Linked DNA regions of Homo sapiens: region 2 is linked to region 1. The links are contacts of gene promoters, found by promoter capture Hi-C in blood cells and fetal thymus (Javierre and others, 2016). All regions are on one chromosome and are shown on one strand. The core of a region is centred on a gene start or on the middle of the fragment in contact, and the rest is flanking DNA. Distances in the headings are between cores, read along the strand shown.

Evidence for each region. The method cuts DNA at HindIII sites, captures the fragments that hold promoters and counts their contacts. A CHiCAGO score of 5 or more calls a contact.
Region 2: a fragment that was not itself captured here is called in contact with the fragment with the promoter of LILRB2 in region 1 in 1 of 17 cell types (neutrophils); the score reaches 5.9 in neutrophils.

What each region holds. Positions count from the first base shown.
Region 1 is chr19:54,279,423-54,286,108 of GRCh38, reverse strand. LILRB2 (leukocyte immunoglobulin like receptor B2) reads left to right here and starts at 4,999. Exons shown (of 14, transcript NM_001080978.4): 1 at 4,999-5,148; 2 at 5,565-5,646; 3 at 5,810-5,845; 4 at 6,034-6,318; 5 at 6,462-6,686. The coding sequence starts at 5,613. MIR4752 (microRNA 4752) reads right to left here and starts at 4,000; the gene lies at 3,929-4,000. RefSeq lists enhancers at 153-654, 5,886-6,686. The HindIII fragment of the contact is 13,229 bases long and covers 3,914-6,686 here.
Region 2 is chr19:54,144,865-54,148,361 of GRCh38, reverse strand. It overlaps CNOT3 (CCR4-NOT transcription complex subunit 3), which reads right to left. Exons shown (of 18, transcript NM_014516.4): 8 at 2,545-2,764; 9 at 2,319-2,452; 10 at 1,705-1,761; 11 at 1-214. It overlaps LOC102724273 (a long non-coding RNA gene), which reads left to right. Exons shown (of 4, transcript XR_001754001.3): 4 at 1,611-1,783. Among named protein-coding and RNA genes, the nearest start is that of CNOT3, 8.9 kb to the right of the region's middle. The HindIII fragment of the contact is 6,124 bases long and covers 1-3,497 here.

The sequences.
Region 1 (6,686 bases), core at 3,750-6,249:
AGGTCACCGGCAGAACCTTCAGGCGGGGCAGGCAGAAGGCTCAGGTGGTAGAGCCTGCGGCAGATCACAGGCCTGTGGGGACTGGGCTCTCAGAAGGGCTGGGGGCTGCAGCTGAAATGTCCAGGTGGGGGCAGGGTGGCTGTGCTGTGGGCCTGTCACTAGGGAGGGCAGCGCCCCTCGGCTGGGGCACTGGAGACTGGCAGCTGTGAGGCACAGGGCCCGCTCACACTTCCCTCCTGAAGAAGTGTCACTCGGTTTTGCTCTGGGGACACGTGAAAGTGCCAGGCCTCCCCACACCCTCCCTGGGCCTGGGGCAGCAGGGGCAGAGGCAGAGGTGGCAGTGACTGCAAAGGGCTTGTCAGGGGCCTCTGAGCATTGGGCTTTCAGAGGGCACCGAGCCAGGGCCACGGTGTTCGGGTGGGGGCAGGACGGGTGACTGGGGCCCTGCAGCTGGCAAGCCCCATTAGCAGGAAGGAAGCCCCATTTCGCAGGAAGCAACAGAGGTGGGCAGCTGTGTGGTGCTCAGCTTGGCTGCTCCTGTGCCCCAGCTGTCATACTTATTCTGGGGCCCACAGAGGTGCCTGGCCTCCTCCCTCCCTGCTAAGGCAGTGGCAGCTGGACCCAGGCTGCTCAGGGATCAGAAGCCTGTGGGATTCCACGTGGGCTCCAGTGGGGCCTTGGTACAGTCTCCAGGAGCAAACTGTGGGCCTCTGGAGGCCCAGAGGGGACAGGCGCTCTCCTGTGGGCAGGATCCTAAGGGCCCACAGCAGAGGTGTAGATGCCAGGGACCCCTCACTCACTCACCCCTTCCCTGTGTTAGGGAGGCTCTCACTCATTCACCCCTTCCCCGTGTTAGGGATCCTCTCACTCACTCACACCTTCCCCGTGTTAGGGATCCTCTCACTCACTCACCCCTTCCCCGTGTTGGGGAATCTCTCACTCACTCACCCCTTCCCCGTGTTGGTGAATCTCTCACTCACTCACCCCTTCCCCGTGTTAGGAGCCTCTCCTGGCTCCCACCTTTTCTCTTCTCTTCTCTCCATGTCCTCATGTTTCTCAGGTGAACCCCAGCATCCTCTTGGAAGATCCACTTGACCTGTTGGTATTTACTCGCTATTTTGGGTCCTCTTAGTGAGTAGGCAGACTCCAGCCCTTTCCATTCAGCCAACTTGAACCTCAGCCCCCAGTCATTTTCTTGCACTTTTTACTCTTGGGAAATCCAGTCCCAATGTGCTTGTCTTTCATTGGACAATAATTTTCATTTTCTCCAGTAGTTTTAAAATTACTTTGTATCTATTCTAGGTATCTTTTACTCTATCATAGTTAAGACATTGATGTTATTTATGAATTTGTTCACGTTAAACTCATGTTCTTTCTTCATTTCTATAAAAATGTCAACCATTTTCTTTGCAAGTATTTACTGAATAACATACTCCTTATTTCCTTCATTCTGAAAGTGTGATCCAAAGAGAGATATCTGTTTCCTCTTTTCATTCCATTTCTTGTGTGCATTAATTATCTTTTCTATTTTTTTCATTTCTAGTTTTTCTCTGATGACTAATGAAAAATTTTAGTAAATATTCTACACCAATACAATGTTTATCATTTCAGCTGTGTCTTGTTCTGGATGAAATTATTTCTAAATGTGTTAATATAATTTACTATTTTCACATCACAATAGCTTCCTAATTCATTTCTACAATTGCCTGTTTTTTCTCTAACGGACTCTTTGATTTTTATTCCTCTGGGGTGGGTTTTTCTCCCACACACCTGATCTTCCATATAGGGTTTCTCCCCAGGCTGACTCAGGAAGGAAAGCTGATGAGGGCATTGCTGTAGCCGCTCCTGCCCTGCGGTGTCCATGCTCCCAAGCTTAGAATCACCTCTGTGTTATGCCCGGCATGGCGGGGTCCATGTGAGCCTCACACTCCAGGGTCAGAGATGCCCGGTCCAACAATGATAAAGCGCATCTGTGTCATGCACACCCGGGAAGGTGGCTCAGTGCTGAGTGTAGCCCGGGTCACTGAGTCATCCCAGGGTCTGTCCACAAACACAGAAGAGGGGGAGTCACAGTCTCTAAGGTCCCACAGTTTCCTCCACTTTTTTCCTTGTTCTGAGAGTGAGACAAAGGGCCATGACTGTTCTGTGGGTTGGACAGATGCATGTTTCCACCTGCAGGCTGGAACCCAAGCTGAGGTCTTGAGCATCCCCAAGTACTGATAAAGCACTTTAGGTTGTTTCTAGAAAACACTGAAAAATTAACCCTTTTGCTAAAAGTGTAGAAACAAGCCCTCCCCTGAACCAAATTCCTGAAACTCTCAGGTTAAACTTCGTAACCCCATCCCTTCACTGCAGACTCCCAATAGAAAAGTTACAGGTGCAAGGATGAGATGACTTTGGTCAAACTCAGACCCCACAGGGCCAGGAAGGCCTGAAGGAGAGGAGGCCCATGCTTCCACGTCTCAGATAAGAACTGTTTCTAAGGACTTTTAAAAAACCCATAAGAAACTCTTCCATGTCCTTCAGCCCCTTCTGCTTTGACAAGGTTTATCACTAGATGTTCTTTAGGACGTCAGGAATTCAGATAAGATGCTCTCAAGAGAACCATTGACCAGCAACAGCATCTCCTCCAATGGACTGACAGCAACTCTGGCTTTGAACCTGTGGAACCAGGGAACTCTGTTTCCAGGCAGCTCTGTCAGGCTCTCCCTTGTTGCTGATAAGAACTTCCTTTACCTCTCTATGTACAGAGAGCTCTCTCTACGGTGCTTTTCCTCTACTCTCACGTCACAGGAATCATCAACACAGAAAAAGACTTCTAGGACCAGATGTATGGGGTTTTTTTCCCCAGACGCAGTAGCGAACAGCAGCTGGGTGTCCTCTAAGTCAGCTCTGGTGCTGTCTACCCAGAGACAGTCCCGGATCCCACAGATTGAAGGCCCATTCCCCAAAACTGCCCCCAACACCATTCCCAAGTCCAGACCTCCAGAACTTCTGACTGACTGGCTTCAAGTTGGGGATCCCATGCCCCACTCTTTGGGTTTGATTAATTTGCTGTAGCAGCTCACAGAACTCAGGAAACACTGACATTTCCTGGTTGAATACAAAGCACACTGCAGAGGACACAGATGAAGAAACTCATAGGAGGAGGCATGGGGGAAGAGGCCCGGGGCTTCCATACCCTCCCTGGGCGTCGCCCTCCAGGAGCCTTAGCATGCTCAGCCACCCAGAAACTCATGAAACCCAGTCCTCTGGGGCTTTTATGAAAGCTTCATGACATCAGCATTTCCTCCCACAAGGAACAGGGTGAGACTGTCTTCTGGGAGGGTCTTAAGATCCACTATCAGAAAGGCAGGGAACATTCGAGTCTTACTTTGGGTTAGGTGAAGGAAGGGCAGGAGGAGGTCAGAGGCCTCCCCTGAGGCCCAGCACAGCCAATGTTATAACAAAAGACTATAACAAGGGCTATGGGAGTTACAAGCCAGGAACTGCGGGTGAAAACCAGCATATATCACAACATCACACTTCCCTCTCTGGACACACTGTGGCTTGCCATGCCATGCACTCCATATTGTAATCCTTGCTTCTCACTCCCAAATAAACTCAAAATCCAGGCAACCCTGGAGCAATGCAGCCTTGAATTCCAGGGGTCTCTTATATGCACACTTTTTCCAAACAAACGGGGATCAAAACTATAGCATTTGTGAGAAACAAGACTTGCGTATATGAACGGCAGACTTTTCCTATATGCAGACCCAGCAGAGACAACGTCAGGGCTGGAGTACGAGCAAGTGTTGGTACATGTAGGGGGTACTGAAACGAATTGCCTGTGTATCCCAAGAAACAACTGTACTGAGAGATCATATTTTCTAGGGGTTTATTTTTGGTTTTGTTTTTATTTTAGGTTAAAGCTTTGGATAGAATACCCAGTGTCTCCTTGTCCATCTGAAGAACATGCTGCTATGTGGAAGCACATCCTTGAGATCCACAAGGAGACACTGGGCAAGAAGACAAGGATGCCCCACTGTGCAGAGGTCCCCCTAATAAATGCTCTATGAACACCCTGGTGTTTAGTGCTTCTTTCCTTGGAATTCCAGCAGGTCTGGACAGTTTGGTGCACTCCCTTGAGGGAATTCCCCTGGGCTGCTTGGGGTCCACTCCAGCCTCAGGTGTAGCTAGAGGACGCAGCCTCCCACCTTGGTCTGGAGCCCTGAGCCCCTCACTGTCATTGCAGATCCCGGGGTTCCTCTCCCGGCTCCACTCAGTGGTGGAAACCTCCACCCTAATGAGCCCTTGATGGTCCCGGGACCCTGTGGCATCTCACCTCTGGCCTCTGTTCTTTCTTGTGAGTCCGTCTACACTTGGGGTTTCCACATGTCTTTTTCTGCTCATGACCTTGATACTCTGGGTATTTCAGAAATGCTACACATACGTTTCTCCATTACGGTCAGATGTGACATCTTGAGTGGACTCATCAATCACCTACAGAATGTGGAGTCCAACAGCAAGATCCTCTCACGTCCCAAAGCCTCAGGTCTTACCCTGGTCTGGAAATCAAGCACAAATGAGCCCCTCCCAATGTCCCAGGCACCACTGACCCCACAACCACTGTGACGAGTGGGATTCATGACAACAATCTGCAAAGGAAGAAACTGAGGCTCAGTGATGGGACATTACAAACCAAGGTCACGTAGGCAGCGGATGATAACCAGTCATCAAATAAATATCAACTCCCTCCCCCACTCCCCAAATCAAAGCTCAAACATAAGTCATTGTTCCCAAAATGTTGACCAGGAATTGAGGTGCAGAGGGACGGCTAAGGACGCAATGGGCACCGAGGAGGCAGGAAAGACTCAGAGGTTTCTTCCCGGGGGGGAGGGAGTGGACGCTGGAGCAAAAACATTTAAAAAGGGGAAGTTAAGAGGGGACTATTTGGTTGAAAGAAAACCCACAATCCAGTGTCAAGAAAGAAGTCAACTTTTCTTCCCCTACTTCCCTGCATTTCTCCTCTGTGCTCACTGCCACACACAGCTCAACCTGGACAGCACAGCCAGAGGCGAGATGCTTCTCTGCTGATCTGAGTCTGCCTGCAGCATGGACCTGGGTCTTCCCTGAAGCATCTCCAGGGCTGGAGGGACGACTGCCATGGTAAGGACCCCACAACGCTGTGCTGATGGATGGGCTGAAGGAGGGAGGGTGACCATGTGGGAAGCTGTGAGAAGGAAGGGGAAGCCACTGCTACCCTCATCAGGAAGGGCAGACACAAGAAGCACCAGTTCTATTTGCTGCTACATCCCGGCTCTCGGTGAGACGAGGAGAAACCAGACAGACAGTGGCTGGGGGTCAGGAAAGACCCCATTACAGTCTGAAATGTCTGCAGAGGGCCCAGTGCCTGCCCCCACCTCAGCTCTAAAAGAATGAGAGTCAGGCTCCTGGGAGGGCAGTTCCGCTTCTTGTGTGGCTGCAGATGACAACACCCCATGAGAAGGACCCAGCCTCTGAGTGTCCACACAGGGTGGGAAGGAGGGGAGGCTATTTCTCTCTGTGTGTCTCTGTCCCGCCAGCACCGAGGGCTCATCCATCCGCAGAGCAGGGCAGTGGGAGGAGACGCCATGACCCCCATCGTCACAGTCCTGATCTGTCTCGGTGAGATTTGAAGAGAGAGGGGAGCTTCTAACCTAGGAGGGACCTCACCCCACAGCCAAACTCTGGTCCCTAAGGAGACCCCAGGGGCTCACAAAGATCCCAGGGAGGGGAGGACCTGCTCAGGCTTCAGGGGGCAAATCCCTCACAGGGAACTCTCTTCCAGGGCTGAGTCTGGGCCCCAGGACCCGCGTGCAGACAGGTGAGTCTGTCCCCAGCTCTCCCAGGTCCCTCCTCCTCACTGGGGACAAGGGGCCACCTCCGTGCAGCTGGGGATGGGGATTAGAAGTTCTGGACTGACTGATGGGGGCATCTGGAGGGTCCTGGGCTGAGAGCTGAGATCTGTTGGGTGGGAAATGACTTCGAATCTGACCTTTGATTTCCTTCCAGGGACCATCCCCAAGCCCACCCTGTGGGCTGAGCCAGACTCTGTGATCACCCAGGGGAGTCCCGTCACCCTCAGTTGTCAGGGGAGCCTTGAAGCCCAGGAGTACCGTCTATATAGGGAGAAAAAATCAGCATCTTGGATTACACGGATACGACCAGAGCTTGTGAAGAACGGCCAGTTCCACATCCCATCCATCACCTGGGAACACACAGGGCGATATGGCTGTCAGTATTACAGCCGCGCTCGGTGGTCTGAGCTCAGTGACCCCCTGGTGCTGGTGATGACAGGTGAGAGGACACTCAGGGATCCCAGCCCCAGGCTCTGCCCTCAGGAAGGAGGCTCTCAGGGGTGTCTCCCTCTCACAGCCCAGCCCTGGGGATGATGTGGGAGGTGGGAGCCCCATTTAACACGATGCCTCCTTCTCTCCTAGGAGCCTACCCAAAACCCACCCTCTCAGCCCAGCCCAGCCCTGTGGTGACCTCAGGAGGAAGGGTGACCCTCCAGTGTGAGTCACAGGTGGCATTTGGCGGCTTCATTCTGTGTAAGGAAGGAGAAGATGAACACCCACAATGCCTGAACTCCCAGCCCCATGCCCGTGGGTCGTCCCGCGCCATCTTCTCCGTGGGCCCCGTGAGCCCGAATCGCAGGTGGTCGC
Region 2 (3,497 bases), core at 1-2,500, 130 kb after region 1:
GAGCAGGGGTGCCCGAGTTGTGGCTGGGAGCTGGACTGGCCTTGGGGCCCAGGGCACTTGGGGGTGCTGCGGGGGCGGGGACCCCATTGTTGCCAGGAGTGGTGCTCAAGGCAGAGGCAGCAGGCGGGGGGCCGGAGGGGTAGGTGGGCGGCACAGCTGGGGACTGAGGGTGCTGGTTGCTGTGGACAGGCTTGGAGCCGTTTTTGGCTGGAGACTGCGGGTGGGAGAGAGCAGAGGGTCAGGACCCAGTGGGCCAGCTGGTCTCCCTCACCACCCCCACCTCAGGCTCCATCTTTGTCCCAGCAGCCTCCTCTCTGGCCTCGCTGCCCCCACCTGCTCCTGCCCTCTTGGGGACCTGGGTGACCTTACTCACCCTCATGGCTTCAATCACCTTCATGCTTAAAACACTCACACTGATTTCCAGCCTGCCCAGCTTCCCAAGTCCTGCCTGGACACCGCCCCATGGACACCCCCACAGGGATCTGACACACAACTTAGGTTGTCAGCCAGAGAAGATCCATCTGTTGGAAGCCAGAGGACTAGTGGGAAACACTTAAGTGTTCTCAATATGAGATTAGCTGGAGCCGCCTAATGTCCAAGAGTAGAAGGAAAAACAGCTGGAAATTGGATAGTAATTCTGAATGTCACCTGAAGGGTCACAGAAGCTACTCACAGGGCTGGAAGTTACCAGCACTCCAGAAAGTGGTGGGAGGGTAAATGTGCTCATGGTATCCCTACCGCAGGCAATCTGCGGACAGCACTCGGGCTGCTGAGCCTAACCACCTCCTGGGCTTCTTTCCAGCCACCCCACAGGCACCTTGCGCTTACCAAGCGCCCAACAGGACTGACTACCCACTTCTCTCCTGGGCATCGCTGCTTGGCAGTGGGGGCCTGGGAAGGTGGCAGAGCCCAGCCTGGCCCCTGGAGTACCTGCCTCAGTGTCTCTCCTCATCACCTCCTGGCCCTGTTGCCCGCCCTCACTACTACCTGCGGGTCCCCTTAGTCTCCACACCAGCCTCCTCAATGCCCACTCAGGGTGTCCCCTTGGAACCATCCATCCCGTTAGCCCACAGAGGGGCCTCAGGCCCATGCTGCTCCTGCCTAACATTGTTCTGTAGCAGCGTTTCCGAAAGCGTGCTCCTGTCCTGGGAGATGTCAAAGGAGTTGAAGAAGCACTGCCCGCCACCGTCTCCTCTCAGAAATTTGCAGTGTGTATTATCAGCACAGCAAAGGCCCCATCGCTTCCTAGGCTTATTGGACTCTGGAGGCCACTCAGGTCCACAAAGCCTGAGCCCCTCAGCCTGACAGTCCCAGTCCCTGTGCTCACAGTTGGGCCCCTGGCCCTGCAGACCTGGCCAGACTCATCTCTCCTCACTTCCAAACTTTCTGTCACAACTTGCCCATGTTACTGGCTGCCACCTCTCCCTGCCAGGCAAACTCACCTGACTGTGAAGCCCAGGGCACTCCACAGCAGCATCTCCTGACTGCCTGGCCAGGCCAAGGGTGACCTGTGTGCTACCCCCTTGACCACAGCACCAGTCACCTGTCCACTTGCCCTGCCCACCTGCCCTCAGGGCAGCACTGATTTCTGAGCCACCTGTGTCCACCAGCCCAGCACAGTGGCCGGCGCTCAGGCCTCAAGATGCCTTTGGGAAGCAACAGAGGAGTGAATGGCGTGCCCACCCGGTCCAGGCTCACACCCACCTGGCTGACTTCACTGTCTGTGGAACGTCCCCTCTTCTTATCATCTTCAGAGTTTTCCTGAGGTAGGGGAGGCAGAATAGAAACCTGTGTGACCTCTGGGGCTCTGATGGAGAACCGCCAATCTCTGAATGCCCCGGGGACCTGGGCCCAATTGACTGCCATTGCGGCCCCAGAGCTGGTCAAATGGCTGTCCTTAATCTGCCTGGAGAAACCATCTCAATTCAGGCTCTCCAGTCTTCTTGTTTTCTGGGAGCCAGCACTGACCCACCAGCCTCTTAAGGATCTGGGAACCTGCTCTCCACAGGGAAGCCAACCCTTGGATCCCTGCCCAAGGTGGCCAGCTACCCAGCCTCCTCAGGCAGCCCAGGCACCGGCCCCTCCCACTTCCCAGATCCAGGACCTAAACTGGCGCGGGATGCACCCTATTGCTCTTTATGTCCTTTAGGGACCCAGATATAGGACCTTAGCGTGTGCTCCAAGAGCCTAGACCCTGGATACCTAGATCTGTGTTTCCTCAATTACGCTCCCATAGCCACTTTGGAGTGACCCAGATTTGTCTCCTCGAGTCCTGCCCTGCTGGAAACACAAGGTACTAGTGTCCCGTGGGGCCTCACCGTGGTACAGTTGGCTGGGCTGGGCGGGATGGGAGAGCTGGAGGTGGTTGAGGTGGGCGTGCTGCTGGACTGGTTGAAGATCTCATCCTCCATGTGGCTGTGGCTGGGGGGGGAGGTGGCGACCAGCGCCTGTGCTGTGGGGGCAGAAGAAGGGCATGCTTAGCTGGCTCACACAGCCCATTCTGGGCCCTCACTTCCTGTGCCACGATCAGCCCCAGGGCCTCACGAATGTCCTCGAGGTCCAGGTCATCGTAGAGAAACTCGTTCTCCTCGAAGTCGGGGTCCTGGGATGAGTCAACATAGTACTCAACGTCGTCCTTGATCTTGCGGATGGCGTCAACGAGGATGGAGTCATTGTCCAGCATGCGCAGGATGGTCTCTAGCATGCGCACGTGGTAGCGGTGCTTCTCGATGTGCCGCTTCAAGCCCTCAATCCGGTCCTGCTTCTGCTGGCGAGCCCAGGGCCAGGCTCAGGGGCTGCAGAGCACCTGCTTGGCCCCTCCTGCCCCCACAGAACCTGTCCTCAGTCCCTGACCCCTGTGGAGACCCAAAGCCTCCACGCCATCCCCTTCGGGGTGGGGCAGTATGGGGTCCACCCACCCTCTGAGCCCTGTGGGGACCAATCTTAGCCTTGACATCTTGGGATCCCACTGCTCCCTCCTCTCCCCACACCTTTCTGGCTCCAGGAGTCCTTGGAAACCTCTAAAAGACCCAGAGGTCCTTGTGCCATCCCACGACTTGGCCTCCATCTGCACCTCACCTGACAGCCCAGATTTCTCAACTGAGCCCGCCCACCACTGTGACTGCCTCTGGCATACAGATACCCTCCGACCTGCTCCAGCAGTAACAATGATAACCCCCATTTGTGAGGAGCTTGCTGTTTAGAATTGTGATATCTGTCATCACTAGGCCCCCAACCCTACCCATTTATCCCTGAGAGAGCCCAGATTCCTAAGCCTCGCTCCTGCCCTCCCCTCAAGGCCCCTTTAGGATTTAACATCTTAGCCTTGGTTCCAAATCTCTGCTCTGTTCAAGGACCCATCATCTCCCCGAAAGCCCCTGGTTCCCAAACCCCTCAGAGTCTGACACCCAACCCTGTCATCTTCCACTTCCTGACCCTCTCCCACCCACAGCTTCCCTGAGGACCCGGCTCTCCCCTCCCTGTCTTTCTGGTTTCAG